Linked DNA regions of Homo sapiens: region 2 is linked to region 1. The links are contacts of gene promoters, found by promoter capture Hi-C in human tissues and cell types (Jung and others, 2019). All regions are on one chromosome and are shown on one strand. The core of a region is centred on a gene start or on the middle of the fragment in contact, and the rest is flanking DNA. Distances in the headings are between cores, read along the strand shown. Region 1 holds the start of DYNC2LI1 (dynein cytoplasmic 2 light intermediate chain 1). Region 2 overlaps PLEKHH2 (pleckstrin homology, MyTH4 and FERM domain containing H2).

Region 1 (7,899 bases), core at 3,584-6,083:
TAGATGTTCAGGGTGAAGCAAGATTTATCTATATTTCAGTGGGACCAACATACAGGCTTTTCTTGGGTGTTTTTTTTTTTCTTCAATATCTTTATGACACTCAATTATTGGGGATTTAAGTGGGAAGATCAGTCCTACAAAGAAGAGTTGGTGGGTCTGGGCAGAGGCTGTGGGGAGGAGACAAGGTAAGCATTTACTTTATATTGTGATTTTATTTGTTGGATTTAATTTGACCTAAATTGTACATAGTCACAGTGACTCTGGATTATAATTCGCATCATTCCAAAAAACTTTATCGTATGCTTTATATTATTTTGCAGTCCAGTAATAGGAAAGGAATACCAACTTTACTAGGGAAAGGTCTATTAGCAAATAACTCCAAAATAGGACACAAATGTTCAGCAACGCACTTGAATACTGAGTACCCTTCCTTCCTGTGCTTTGCCAACATCATTTTCTTTCTTTTTTTTTTTCTGTCGCCCAGTCTGGAGTGCAGTGGCGCAATCTCCACTCACTGCAAGCTCCGCCCTCCGGGTTCATGCCATTCTCCGGCCTCAGCCTCCCGAGTAGCTGGGACTACGGGCGTCCGCTACCACTGGCTAATTTTTTGTATTTTTAGTAGAGACGGGGTTTCACCATGTTAGCCAGGATGGTCTCGATCTCCTGACCTTGTGATCCGCCCTCCCCGGCCTCCCAAAGTGCTGGGATTACAGGCGTGAGCCACCGCGCCCGGTCCATTTTCTTTTATTTTTTTTGAGACGGGGTTTTGCTCTTGTTGCCCATGCTGGAGTGCAATGGCGCGATCTCGGCTCACTGCAACCTCTGCCTCCCGGGTTCAAGCAGTTCTCCTTCCTCAGCCTCCTGAGTAGCTGAGATTACAGGCACCTGCCACCATGCTCAGCTAATTTTTTTTTTTTTCTTTTGAGAGGAGTCTCGCTCTGTCGCCCACACTGGAGTGCAGTGGCGCCATCTCGGCTCATGTAAGCTCCGCCTCCCGGGTTCACGCCATTCTCCCGCCTCAGCCTCTGCAGTAGCTGGGACTACAGGCGCCTGCCACCACGCCCGGCTAATTTTTTGTATTTTTAGTAGAGACGGGGTTTCACCATGTTGGTCAGGCTGGTCTTGAACTCCTGATCTCAGATGATCTGCCCGCCTTGTCCTCCCAAAGTGCTGGGATTACAGGCGTTAGCCACCGTGCCCGGCCTGCCAACATAATTTTCTAATAAACAGAGTGGGGGTGGGAGGGGAAGGGCCGCTCTTTCTGAACGTGCTGCTAGGTTATACTGTGGTTTTATGAAAATCAAACAACTCTTCTTTAGCAGTGGCAGTGGCAAAAGAAGGCTAATTCCCTCTCTCACTATGTGGCTCTAATGAATTCCCAGGAGCTCCTAGGAACTGAATATTGGGTGATACCAGAGGAAATGGCTTAGATGTTATTAACTTCTTGAGTTTCTGGAAAATGCTATCAAACCCAATAAGAGTTGCCTTTTATGAGAGAAAAGTTTACAGAAAGTGTAACCTTAGGAAAGCTTGTGGAGAGTTCTTGGGTTTTGGATCATGTACAGATTATAAGATGTTCCACTCAGGGATAGGGTATCATCAACACTGCTTTCATGTACTGACTATTCTATCGAAACATCTTCACATGAGGTTATCACTGACCACTTAACTGCCAAGTCCAGCAGACCCCAAATGGTCCAACTGTCTGCTGGACGATATCTCAAACTCACCATGTCCTCTAAACCTGCTTCTCCTGCTCTGTGCCCCTTAAAATTGGTTAAGAGGATCACCAGTTCATCCATCAAGAAGGAAACATTGACTTTTCTCCCTTTTACCAACGTCTTACTTTCTACTGTCTAGTAATTGTATTAGATAGAACTCTTTTTGCTGTAAATTCCAAAATTCAACTTGAACTAGCTTAGACAAAAATGAGAAATTGTATTACAAGGATATTAGGATGTCTCATATAATCAAAGAGCAAGCTGAACAACCAAGCCATAAGAAAGGTGAGGACACAGGCAAGCCTTAGGGACAATTAGAACCATGAGACATATGCCAGCACTTTCCCTTCATATTGATGTGTGTCTGATGTGTGCTCACTAACTACAAAATAATTCATTTAGCATAAAATATGCTAATTTCCTCTAGAGGTAGAGTGACTTACTTTTCCCAATTCTAGTTTGAAAAATTTCAGGGAAGGACTGTGATTAACCCAGCTCATGTTAGGTGTTCACTCTGAACCACCCCAAATGTACTCAACATTAGGAGAATGCTTAAGTACATTACGAAAAATCTATGCAGTGAAATATTCTGCAACCATCAAAGTTATGTTTATGATGCAGTTTTAAAATTTGATATGGTGCATTTTTAAAATTTGATATGGGGAAATACATGTTAAAATCAGGACATTAATTAACTTTACAATTAATCTCAACTTTGTAAGAAAAAAGATTAGAATGAAACATATCAAATGTATTTCCAAAATACCTAATAGTTACTACTTCTGGCTTATGCTTATTTTACCCTCTTAATTTTCTGTGCATACGTTTTTTCCCCTACAATTAGCTTATATAACTTTGAAAACAAGGGAAAAAATTTTAAAACTCTGCCTGTCACTTTCCTAGCTATTGTTAATAGCCTCCGCATGGTCTTCTAGATGCCAAACCACCCTTCACACAACTGCAAAAAATTATCTCACTGAAATTCATGTCTAATCATGGCACACTCCTATTTTTAAACCCTATTTGGTTTCTCATAACCAACACAGTAAAGTCTAGACTACAGCATCCTTCACAGTAGCCCCATCTACCTGCCCAGTTTGCTCTTCCACTGTAGCTCCACCAGGCACTTTATATGATCGCAACCCAAACTATTCAGTTTCCCAAATACATCCTGCACACGCCTTTACCCTTCTGCACTGTTGCTCATTCCATCCAGAAAGCAGCATAAAATTGTCTCCTTCTCCTTCCATTCTTACCTTAAGAACAATCTTCATCTACCCAGGAAAGTCACTTTCTTTGCCCAAGTATGAAGGCCTCAAGAGGAATGAGGGAAGAAAGGGGAACTCACCTGCTCAGTCAGATCAACTGAATCAACCCTGAATCAATGCTGCTGATCAGGGCCCAGCCGGATCACCTTCACTTTCCTGGTTACCAAGCTCCCTCCTTCAAACACCTCTCCCCGTTATTCAAACAAGTGTACTTTTGAAGTACTCGTACTGAGTATTGTGCCCAGTACATAGCAAGCACTTGGCAAAAATGTTAGCTGTCGTTATTGCTATCAATATCAACAGGCCTTCCTAACTAGCATGCAAAAGTATTCTGAAGTTCTAGAACCCAAATCATTACAATTCATTACAATCTGTCCCATATCAGTTTGTGAGCTTAAAGTCTGGCTTAGCACCAGGCTATAGCTGTTGATTCAATGACAGATGTATAAGCCTCCTTTGAAAAATCATCCTTTCTTCGGTGAGCTCTACTCCCATTAATTCCCTTCCTATGTGCAGCTTAGTGTTCTTTACGTCTCCAAAATATACCTAGGTGTTGGGAGGATTTTGTTCCCAATGACTTTATTTGAAATAAACACCCTTTTATCAACCATCAGCCTTGTTTCCAGGAATGTGTTCCTTGTGTTTCTTTGTTCGAAGTTGCTGACCAGCAGCTTATCACACAATAATAACAAGCATTAAGCAGTTATAATGTGTCAGACACCCACGTAAGTTATGTTTTACCTACATTTATCTCATTTAAGATTCACAATCTTTCCCGCTTTACAGGATCAGAAATTCAGTGATTTACCCGATGTGGCAATGTGACAACTTAGCCAGCGTGGCCAAGTCAGAACTTGAACCTAGGTCCATCTCACGCCAAAGCCCATGTACTTGAACATCGCACCATAGAAATCAAGCCGAATAGTAGAGGACTGGAGGGAGGGTATCTCCTTCAAATATTCAGGGCATCTTAGGCTAGAAAGCCTGAGTCTACTCAGCATTCAATACAGACCAAATACTATCAGTGCCATGGTTTCACCATCTCCTTCAGGCATAATTGGTCACTTGCCCTCATGCAATTTTTGTACCTCTATACAATAGTTTAGATCACTCACTTCCTTAGGTGCTTATAATTAGCTGAGTGTGTGTCTTTCTTAAGGGCAGCGATCTTTTCTTACTCATCTCTTTATTCCTTATTCTGTGTAGCATAGGGCCTTGCATATTCAATGATTGTTATTTATTTCAATGCTCGTTATTTATTTGGACACTCCTGCAGATCTATAAAGAGACCACAAAGTTCCAAAAGAAAATAATCTACATTCACAAAGTAAATGAAGTATGTAGGAGATGCACTTGCTTCATTAATTTATTAATAAATACACAATGTGCTATTGAATAAAACTTGAAACAACTAAACATCTAGAAAGTTGGAAAATATTAAAATTACGTGCCTTATTTTAAATTTTAAAGTCCGAATATTCCTTGCTTCTAGTAAATTAGCAGAAAACAGCTCAAGAGATTGTTACACCCTCTATTCCTAAATCATGGCGATTGGGAAGAAAAAAGTGAAAGATGAGAGAGAGAGAGAGCAGAGACCCTTGGCATATAGTTGACACCCAGTAAAAAAATTTTAAAATAAAAGAAAATTGCTTTTAGATCCCAGGTTTGTAACCCCTTATCATCTCGTTCTAGGAGGTAACAAGGAGTTACTAACTTGGGATCTAAAAGCAATCCTAAGGCTTGAGGCCGAGAATGAGATGTAAAAGGACTCCTGAAAACTACATTTCCCATGATGCCCGTCTCCCCACGCAACCGCGGCCGCGACGTCGCTCCCATGGCAACCCAGAAGGCCTCACTCCCAGACTCCTTGCGGAGCTCGCCGCCTGATTCTAGGCTGGTCACTACTCCGAGCCTGTGACGTTTGCGGCAGCCAGGCCGTCGACGATGCCCAGGTATTCCCTGAACCCGGCTTGCGTGGGAAAGGCTACTGAGAGTATTCCTGGAGAGAGGAAGCCCAGGCGGGACCAGCTGTTGGAAGATTGTGGGGGTGGCTACTTGCCACCAGGATATGCAGGGTCGGGGACCTAGGAATCAGCCTTGAGCATAAAGATTCTGCCGCAAACAGGAAAGAAAAGAAAGTTCCCTAGGTAGAAAAGTGAGAGATTTGGAAAGATCAGCAACTCCACCCATTCAATGATTGAATAAAAGTTTCTTGCAGGCCAGAGACTACTTCCGGAGCAGGACATTCGGCGATGAGCTAGACCACAAAGCCTCCTCTCCCCAGGGGCCTCCCCTCCTGGTGCGGGGGTTCGCAGTAATAAGCGAGGGGAAACTTGGAAGGCACTGTGGAAAGTATAACATCACTTTTAAGGGGGGAAACGGGAGAGGGTTTGTAAACTATATTCTAGCTGTTCAATTCTATGATATTCATTTTAATTACCTGTTCACAAGATATTCCTAAACCTTTTCTCAACAATTTATGCTTAAGCACGTCGGGGAGAGGGGTCAGGGAGTGCATCACAGAGCAGGATAAATCTTTTTCTCTCCTTGGGATAGTGTGGAGAATTGTCAGCTTTCCATCAAGGGATAATTGGTTAGTTATAAAGCTATGGTTATACTTCCCGATTTCCGCAGGTGTCGTGGCTGACTGCAGCACCTCCGTCTTTCCTCTCTGCTAGGTATTTGGAAAGCAGATCCTCATATTTTGAAAGAATGTTGTGTAAATGAAGAGCAAACAGCCCGAAACTGAGTTCTGAAGGCTCACCTGTGAAATAAATGCATGAATTTTAGTGCAAACATTTAAGGACTCCTGTTTTGACCCTTTTTCTTATTCCTGGTTCTTGAATAGTATAATTACAAGCCCTCAATAATTTTTGTAATTGTATAGGCCATGCCCTAAACTACATATATATTTTAACAATTATGACAATCCTATAAAGCTGATACTCTTTTTTATTGGCTTTTTAGAGATAGAGAAACAATTGAGCCTGGGGAATAGCACAGAGGATTGCATATATTAGGTGCTCAATAAATATTTGTTTAATTAATAAAGGAATGAAGGATTTAAAGAGGTTAGGTAGTTTTCCCAAGTTCACATACATAGGAAGTAGCAGAATCAGGCTAGGACCTATCAGGTCTTGCCCATGGTTAGTTTTTAGTTTAATATTCCATTTTCACTTAGGCTTTAATTAATATATATATGATTTTATCGTGTAAAGTTATATATCTGTGTAAAGAAATCAATGAAAGGATTGTTTTCAAAATGTTTGTGGTTTTAGGGTTTTTTTTTCTTTCTTTCTTTATGGTTTTTTTTTGGCGGGGGGAGACAAGGTCTTGCTGTGTCACCCAGGCTGGAGTGCAGTGATGTCAACATGCTTACTGCAGCCTCGACCTCCAGGGCTCAGGCAATCCTCCTGCCTCAGCCTCCCTAGTAGCTGGGACCACGAGTGCATGTCACCACACCCAGCTAATTTCTTTTCTTTTTCTTTTTTTATTTTCTTTTTTTTTTTTTTAGACAGAGTCTCGCTCTGTTGCCCAGGCTGGAGTGCAGTGGCACGATCTTGGCTCAATACAACATCCACCTCCTGAGTTCAGGTGATTCTCATGCCTCAGCCTCCTGAGTAGCTGGAGTTACAGACACCCGCCACCACACCTGGCCAATTTTTTTTTTTTTTTTTTTTTTTTTTTTTTAGTAGAGATGGGGTTTTACCATGTTGGCCAGGCTGGTCTTGAACTCCTGACCTCAAGTGATCCACCCACCTTGGCCTCCTAAAGTGCTGGGATTACAGGTGTGAACCACCACTCCCAGCCTCAGCCAATTTTTTTTGTTTGTTTTCTTTTCTTCTTCTTCTTTTTTTATACTTTAAGTTCTAGGATACATGTGCACAACGTGCAGGTTTGTTACATATGTATACATGTGCCATGTTGGTTTGCTGCACCCATTAATTCATCATTTACATTAGGTATTTCTCCTAATGCTATCCCTCCCCCATGCTAATTTATTAGTAGTAGTAGTAGTAGTAGCAGTAGTAGAGATGGGATCTTCCTGTATTGCCTAGGCTGATCTCAAGTGATCCTCCTGCCTCAGCCTCCCATATACTTTTATATTAAACAAAATTTTTTTTTACCTAAAAACATAATCTAAAACACAAAAAAGAAATGTTTCAGGGAGGAAAGATTATTTGATACACTGGTTTTGTACTTTTCCCATCTTCCTAGGTGACTTAAATGTTTGTGGTTTTCAAGTTGTACATTCCCAAAGTCATTGTACCTCCATATGTGTCTGAGAAGCTGACATACACAGCTATGAACCGTAGGGGAAGACCCAAATGTGACAGCCTCAAATCCTGGCAATAAAGGCTCTGCTTATCAATTTCAGTATTCTTCAGAGAACTAGTTCAAAGCAACAAAAGAAAAATAAAATCATAGAATGACTAATCCTCAGATGTTTTACCAGATTATTGTTCCTCAGAAAATAATGTTCATTTGTTTCATAAATTATACTGAAATAAAATTTCTCTGAGCTTGAAATAAATATTTGAAAGAATTCTTTTTCCCTCAATTTTGTTTTTTCTGCCTCTCATGTAGTGAAACTCTCTGGGAAATTGCAAAAGCTGAAGTGGAAAAAAGGGGAATTAATGGAAGTGAAGGTGATGGAGCTGAAATTGCAGAAAAATTTGTTTTCTTCATTGGCAGTAAAAATGGGGTAATGCTTTCTTTTTTTCAATTATTGTGATGATTTAACAACCATTGGTAAAATATCTGTTAATACTTTGATTAAAATGTAGATACTTCAACACTTTAACCAGATGACCAATCTGGTTTAGCATGAATTAAAAAGTGCTTATTATTAATCTAGGAAAAACTATAATAGTAAACAAAATTTTAGAAAAATATATTTAAACTATTTT
Region 2 (7,899 bases), core at 3,525-6,024, 64 kb before region 1:
GCTAGGATTACAGGTGTGAGCCACTACACTTAGCTAGGAAATTACATTCCAATATTTCAACATCAGATTTACCTGATAAAGGCTTAAGAACAGTGGTTTTGGTTTTGGTTTTTGTTTGAGAACAAGTCTTGCTCTGTCGCCCAGGCTGTAGTGCAGTGGCATGATCTCGGCTCACTGCAACCTCCCCTTCCCAGGTTCAAGCAATTCTTGTGCCTCAGCCTCCCAAGTAACTGAGATTACAGGTGTATGCCACCATGTTTGGTTTTAGTAGAGAAAGGGTTTTGCCATGTTGCCCAGGTTGGTCTCAAACTCCTGGGCTCAAGCGATCCACTGCCTCAGCCTCCCAAAGTCCTGGGATTACAGATGGGAACCACCATGCCCCACCAGAACAGTGGTTTTGATACCATGCTGGTAATAGGGTTATGAATAGTCAGAGAATATCTTCCTATGTACTGCTTACTGAATTGGTTGGTAAGCAGTTGCCTGTACTTAGTTCTGCCCAGCCTGAGCAAAGCATGCATGGAGATTTCAAGGAAATAAAAGCTATGGTTCTTGCTCTCAAAGAGCTTGCAGTCTAGTTGGGGAACTAGCACACATGAGGAAATAATGAACCATGTAAAAAAGTGTATAAATAAACCTGTAAATGCCATAATCTGTAAAGTAGACTATACAGTTAGTAATCATGTATTAATCGAATTGCTTTTTAAATGGAGATTATGCTCATTTGTATTCATAAGAAAAAGACCAATGTGCTAATTAGAAGTTTTTTAAAATGTTGTTTCCTGTTTTTCTGTTTCAGATTCTGCTGCAACCCTTTCCTATACTACATCAGGACTTTATACATCTCTGATATACAAGAACATGACCACCCCAGTGTATACAACTTTGAAGGGGGTAACTCATTATTGTTATTGTTAAAACATGTGCTTCTCTTCATGATGGATCAAGGAAATTGTTAATTCAAGCTCCAGATTCCATTCTTAACATTTTACACAGGCTCTCCCTTTATAGAAAGTTTTACAAGTTCACGTTAACATATCATAAAAAAGAAGGAATGGAAAGGTCTGCAGAAGACACTTATCAGAATGTTAGAGGTCTGAGTCAGTTTTTACTGTGTCCCATGTGATTCCCCCACCTCCCCATGGCCATGAATTGTTTAAAGGAGACATATTATTAATAATGTAATGAAAACTCCTAATTTAGGCAGATCTTTGTATCAGTGCCAGGGTACCCCTTCCTTGCTTGAAGTATTAATTAAAAGAAGGATTGCAGGTATTGACAACCTTATATTTTCAGGCATCTTTTATAATTGCTTATTAGAATTCAGGGTTTAACAACATGATTTTGATAACAGCAAAATACATTCCCAAATTCCTTTTAAAAATCATATGCTGGCTGGGCACGGTGGCTCACGCCTGTAATCCCAGCACTTTGGGAGGCCGAGGCGGGCGGATCACGAGGTCAGGAGTTCGAGACCAGCCTGGCCAACATGGCGAAACCCTGTCTCTACTAAAAATATAAAAATTAGCCGGGCGTGGTGGCAGGTGCCTGTAATCCCAGCTACTCAGGAGGCTGAGTCAGGAGAATCGCTTGAACCTGGGAGGCGGAGGTTGCAGTGAACCGAGATCATGTCATTGCACTCCAGCCTGGGTGACAAGAGCAAGACTCCACCTCAAAAAAAAAAAAAAAAAAAATTCTATGCTATGACTTCTTCCTGTAAAACTTTCTGTTATCTAAAAAGAGTGATAACCTTAGGGATGGATACAGGGAGGTTGCTCTGCTTTTCTTTAGGAGGCGACCCTAATAACTAGCAGCCTTTTCTTGGATGAGTGGTAACATTAGGGATGGATACAGGGAGGTTGTTCCACTTTTCTTTAGAAGGCGACCCAAATAAGTAGCAGCCCTTTCCTGGATGACTCATCTGGGTCAGAGGAAGAAGACAGCTCCAGATCCAGCTCCCGGACGTCAGAGTCAGACTCACGCAGTAGGAGTGGGCCAGGCAGCCCCAGAGCCATGAAACGAGGTGAGGGAAAATCGCAGGCATATGAGGCAACTCCAGATCATTCTGAATATTAATTGGGAATTTTATCTCCATTACAGGATTATTTTTTAAATCCAAGAACTTGCTTCAGACCCTAGTGAAAAGAACTTTAGCCTATGACTGATATGTTTATATTCCTAATTCTCTTCTTAATTCTCTGTGATTTCAGACAAATTATATAGTTTTTTTTTTTCAGCTTTTTATTGTCTGTGAGAGGGAGATCACTTTATTGTTGGAATGAAGTGAGATAATTGGCCAAAATGAGGTTTCTTTCTTGGCATTTGTGAAATAGACTTATTTCAGCTAAAGTTGTTACACTGCTAACTGGCAGAAAATATACCTTAAAATTTGTCAATTAATCTGATGTTAAAGTGGAGAACAACATTTACTTGGAATATGTCTATGATTTTTAGTGGATTTTGAAGACATTCTGTGTGTAGGTAGTGGTTACAGAGAGATCTAATTCCACCAAATGACATCTGTATGTTATAAAAAGCCCTTAATGCAGCATGGTGTGTCTGTTGGCTTTCAAACTGTGTTCCATGGAACCTCTGGATACTTCCAATCCCCTCGGCTTCAACTGGAGCTGCTCAGCCTTCCTTGGTTTCATATTTTGAGCTTCCACTGGTCTTCTTGCTCTCAACTTGCCCCGCTACAGCCAGAATCAGGTTATGACACACTTTTGCTGGAAACACTGCAGTGGCTCCTCACAACGGCTATAAGGTGTTCCAGGATTCGGTCACGTACTTGACCTCATCTCCTTTCTTCTCTGTACTCAGCTCCAGTCTCACTGGCCCTCTTGCTGTTCTGAGACATGCCAGGCATGCTTGCATTTCAGGACCTTGGCACTGCTGTTTCCTCCAGCTGGTATTCTTCCCCTAGATGTCCGTATAGCTGACTCCCTCACCTCCATCAGCAAACGCTGCTTTCTCAATGAGGTCCACCCTGACCACACCACTCAAATTGCAGCCCTTTGTCTTTCTTCTGTTGCCAGCTCTTTTTATTCCCTTTAGTCTGCTCTATGTTTTATTGTTCCATACCACCTACTGCCTGTTTGTCAGTGGTCTCCTTCCGCTAGAATTTGTTCCACGAGAGCCAATATTTTTGTTGTTTGCTCTATCCCTAGCATCTAGGACAGTGCCTGGCACACTGGCCCTGGTCCTGGGAGCCTGAGACTTGTGTTCCAACATTGCCCCTGCCTAACTCTTTGACTTTGGACAAATCCTTTAATCTCTGGGCCTTAGTCTCCTTGGGCCTTAGCCATGACAATCACTGAGGTCCCTATAGGTCTACATTTTTGTTTATTCTATGAAAAATGAAGATATTATAGCAACTGTTACTTGTCTGAGTCAAATAAAAAGCAGTGTCACAAGAGTGGCATTGTTCTAATATGTCCCTTAAATGTTAATACATATTTTTAAAAATTGCTGGATACTTTTATAAATAATTACCTAAGTCCTTGATTTTATTTAATATATTCTAAATCTCCAATTGTAGTGACTCATGAAATGTGGCTTGCAACTCCCAGGTAGTTTTCTGTAAAGGCAAATGAATCATTGTATAAATGTTCCATTGAATTTTATGTTATAGCTGCTGGCAAGTGAAAGAAATAGTTTGTTTATATCTTTCAATCTTATTGTTTCTCTTTTATGAAATATTTTTAAAATCTGTAAACTGCTTAGTAGCTTATGGAACTTGAATGAAAAAATACTACTGAATTGTGTTTTTTTAAAATGTGAGGTTACTTTAAAAGTGATTACAGAAGTTAAGAAATTTAAAATGTGATTGTGAAAATCTTGATAAATTAAGGTTCAACATTTGTTTGCCTATATGTCAATGTGTAAATACACATATTTTTAATTCTTAATAAAATATACATGAGTAGACTCTTGCATATATTTTATATATGTAAAATAGCTGTGTGATTGTAATCATACCAAAATATTATTCCTGTTCCTTTCACTTCCTTAGAGATTTACATGACAGTCCCTACCTCTTAGTTCTGTTTTCTGCTTTAAAAGTTCTTCATGTTGGGAGGCCAAGGCAGGCGGATCACGAGGTCAAGAGATCGAGACCATCCTGGCCAACATGATGAAACCCCATCTCTACTAAAGATACAAAAATTAGCTGGGCGTGGTGGCGCACACCTGTAGCCCCAGCTACTCGGGAGGCTGAGGCGGGAGAATCGCTTGAACCCAGGAGGCAGAGGTTGCAGTGAGCCGAGATTGTGCCAGTGCACTCCAGCCTGGTGACAGAGCGAGACTCTGTCTCAAAAAAAGTTATTTATGGCCAAAGGAATGAGAATAAATCTAGTCTAGGGAGGCTTATGATTTAGGAATAATTGCATTCTGTAGGAGCACTCAGAGCTGGTGTTTGGCCCTCCCCAGTATTAAATACTGACTTGATTTCTTTCTTTGTTCTCTTAGGTGTGTCTCTCTCCTCTGTGGCTTCTGAAAGTGATTATGCTATTCCTCCTGATGCTTACTCCACAGACACGGAGTACTCACAGCCAGAGCAGAAGCTCCCAAAAACTTGCTCATCTTCCAGTGATAATGGGAAAAATGTAAATATTGAATATGATTTTTAAAAAGCAGTCAGTCAGATTGAGCCTCCAAAAGGAAACTGAAAATGCTTTTGTCTATCTTTTAAAAATTAGGAACCACTGGAAAAATCTGGTTATTTATTAAAAATGAGTGGTAAAGTCAAGTCTTGGAAGCGGCGGTGGTTTGTTCTTAAAGGTGGTGAATTACTTTACTACAAATCTCCGGTGAGTGGAAAGTGTTTTCTGTTTAGAACGTAATTCCTCAAACTATAAATCAGACGCCTGATTGATTTCCTTCCCATAATGCAAGTAATGATACAAAGCATTCCTTATTATTACTGTTAAAGTTAATCACTTTCCATTTGTTTTTCTGTTTCATACAGAGTGATGTAATTAGAAAACCCCAGGGCCATATTGAACTTAGTGCATCCTGTAGTATTTTAAGAGGAGATAACAAACAAACAGTTCAGGTACTTAACTTTTTTTTTTTTTTTTTTTTTTTTGTATCATGCCAGACTCAATTCTCAATTATCCAACCTAATGGAAAGGAGATAGGATAATTCAGTGTTTCTTTATTCACTTTGGGGGGTTAGTTTGATGCCTTGGAAGTATGTGAAACTCCACGAATTTTTGGTTAAAACTATAATGTAAGTTAGGTGTGTGTTGAGTAACTCCCACCACACTTTACCTTTCTTCCTTTATACTCTTCTTTCCTCATATTTAATCTCCTAGGTATTTTCAGCTGTCCAACTGTGAAGCTATTTTAAGGAAGGGTTATCTGGTAAATGAATTCTCAATAAGATGTTAGTTATATAATGTACTGTGAAATTCAGGAATGTTTGTATTTTAATATAGAATCTGAAAATGACAGTTCTTATATGAACTTCAGATGCCATAACACCAAAGTGGGAAATATATTGGTGAGCAGAGGGAGTGTGCTGCCAAGCAAGTCACACTGTAGGGGCAGCTGCTGCCCATTTTACTCACACATAAGGCCAGTCTTGCCAGAAATCTGTTAAATTTAAAACACAGGCTGTTGAGATATTCTAGTATATGTAATTTAAAGTCAGACACTTTATTTCTGAAATGTCTTCAATAACCATTATTTTCTTATATTGCTCCTTTGGAGGGTGGAGGACAACTTTGCCAGAAAGGTACATTATCAATGTTTCCAGTGATTTGTACCTGAAAACCTCTCAAAAATTTAGAAAGGAGAATCAAGGAAAGCTTTGTCTTTGGGCATGGCAGTTAAGAATCATTTGTAAGTTTCTGAAATTTGGAAAATTTGCAGTGTGGCTAATTTGAGACTGGAACATTCTGAGTTCATAATATCTAATCACATGTTCGTTCCAATAATTTATCTTCTTATATGCAAGATCTTCTTATTTTATTTATAGTTGATTTTGTCATTTGTATTAAGAAACCTCTTCTTTAGTTGCTAAAACTATGCTATTTTATTATAGTCTTTAATCATTCTGCTCCTCATTTCAATAAGTAGGAACCTGGCCGGGCGCGGTGGCTCACGCCTGTAATCTCAGCACTTCAGGAGGCTGAGGCAGGCGGATCATGAGGTCAGGAGATCGAGACCATCCTGGCTAACACGGTGAAACCCCGTCTCTACTAAAAATTCAAAAAAAATTATCCGGGCATGGTGGCAGGTGCCTGTAAGTCCCAGCTGCTCGGGAGGCCGAGGCAGGAGAATGGTGTGAACCCAGGAGGCGGAGCTTGCAGTGAGCCAAGATGGCGCCACTGCACTCCAGCCTGGGCGACAGAAAGAGACTCTGTCTCAAAAAAAAAAAAAAAAGAAAAGTAGGAACCTGTAACACATTTAAGCAAGAAAGGGAAAATGTGACAAATAAACAAGATATAAAATCATAACCCCAAAATTAGGTAAACTGGAGTAACAAAGTTATTTCCACAAAAATTTAATTGCTGTAATTCTCACAAAGTGGTTAAAATATTCTAACTGATATGGAGTCATTTATTTAGAAACTGGGACTTGAGATTTAGCATGTTTGCTTCTGTGTTAAGTAATGACGTTTGAATAATGAACAAGGAAATGCTAACAATCCTAAATCTTCACAGTTTTCTTTCCTATACCTTTCTCGTTGCATTCTAGTTGACCACTGAAAAACACACATACTATCTGACTGCAGATTCTCCCAATATATTGGAAGAGTGGATTAAAGTGTTACAGAATGTTCTTCGAGTACAAGCTGCCAACCCACTTTCCCTGCAGCCTGAGGGCAAACCCACCATGAAGGGATTGCTCACTAAGGTAGGAACCTCCTGTGCATAGCAATGTCCCAGGCAGCTATGGGCATGAGCCCATGATCGCTGAAAATGGGATGTCAGAGCATATACATATATTGAATATTGATATGATCTTGGGGATAGGAAAGGGTGTTTTTAAGTATGATGCCCAAGGCAAAAACTATAAAGATGAAAAGAAGACAAATTTGACTATAATATGTAAAAATGTAAAGGCTCTATTAAAAATTCTACGAGCAGAATTTTTAAAAGAAGGATTGAAAAACTTTGAAGAGGTATTTGAAACATGTGAAAACTGGTTAATATCATTAATATTTAACACGTTTTTTTCTAATCAGTAAGCAAACAATGAACACCAATTGGGGGAAAAGGAACAAAAGACTCAATGGGCAGGAAAGAGAGATCATCGAGGTTAGAAGGAATACAAATGATCAATAAGCATATGGAAAAACATTTTACTGTCACTCAATTTTTTTAAAAGCACAGATTGAAATAAGAGGTGGCACTTTTTAAAATCTGGTGAAAAGTAAGACGTTTTTACAAATTTTGAAACCTAGTATTGACACAGATTAAAAAATCTGCTAGTTTCTGCAATTACATAGGCAGTAGAAAAAAAAAGAAATCTGCTAGTGAGAGCATTACTCTAAAAGGCAGTTTGGCAATATCTTGGCTGAAGTGTTAACTTAGCCAATAATTTTGAGTGAACAAATCAATATCAAATCAACACACACACACACACACGCATATATATCTCCTTTGATCCAGCAATCTCAGTTTTAAAAATTTATCCTTAGGAAGTGGTCTTAATTTGCAAAAGATTTAATTATGAGATGTTCCTCACAGCATGTTTTTTTTCCTATTTTAAAAAATGAGGTATGATTAATATATCTGAAATGCACAGATCTTAAGTGTAGAGTTTGACTAGTTTTGAAAGCTATTTACTTTTGACTCTATCAAGATGCAGAACATTTCCATTACCCCAGAAAGATTCCTTGCACAGCATGGTTCATAATAAAGAAAAATTGGGATCAAATTAGATGTAGGG

What was found. The method cuts DNA at HindIII sites, captures the fragments that hold promoters and counts their contacts. A contact is called where the count stands out against the background at its distance.
Region 2: a fragment that was not itself captured here is called in contact with the fragment with the promoter of DYNC2LI1 in region 1 in 1 of the 25 tissues and cell types used here (liver).

What each region holds. Positions count from the first base shown.
Region 1 is chr2:43,769,206-43,777,104 of GRCh38, forward strand. DYNC2LI1 (dynein cytoplasmic 2 light intermediate chain 1) reads left to right here and starts at 4,834. Exons shown (of 13, transcript NM_016008.4): 1 at 4,834-4,941; 2 at 7,577-7,694. The coding sequence starts at 4,934. LOC105374571 (a long non-coding RNA gene) reads left to right here and starts at 4,948. Exons shown (of 2, transcript XR_940033.2): 1 at 4,948-5,341; 2 at 5,668-5,787. It also overlaps the pseudogene RN7SKP66. RefSeq lists an enhancer at 4,720-4,769. The HindIII fragment of the contact is 10,095 bases long and covers 1-7,899 here.
Region 2 is chr2:43,705,523-43,713,421 of GRCh38, forward strand. PLEKHH2 (pleckstrin homology, MyTH4 and FERM domain containing H2) reads left to right here. Exons shown (of 30, transcript NM_172069.4): 10 at 800-894; 11 at 1,879-2,023; 12 at 4,468-4,604; 13 at 4,698-4,808; 14 at 4,967-5,053; 15 at 6,703-6,861. Among named protein-coding and RNA genes, the nearest start is that of C1GALT1C1L, 33 kb to the left of the region's middle. The HindIII fragment of the contact is 5,564 bases long and covers 1,993-7,556 here.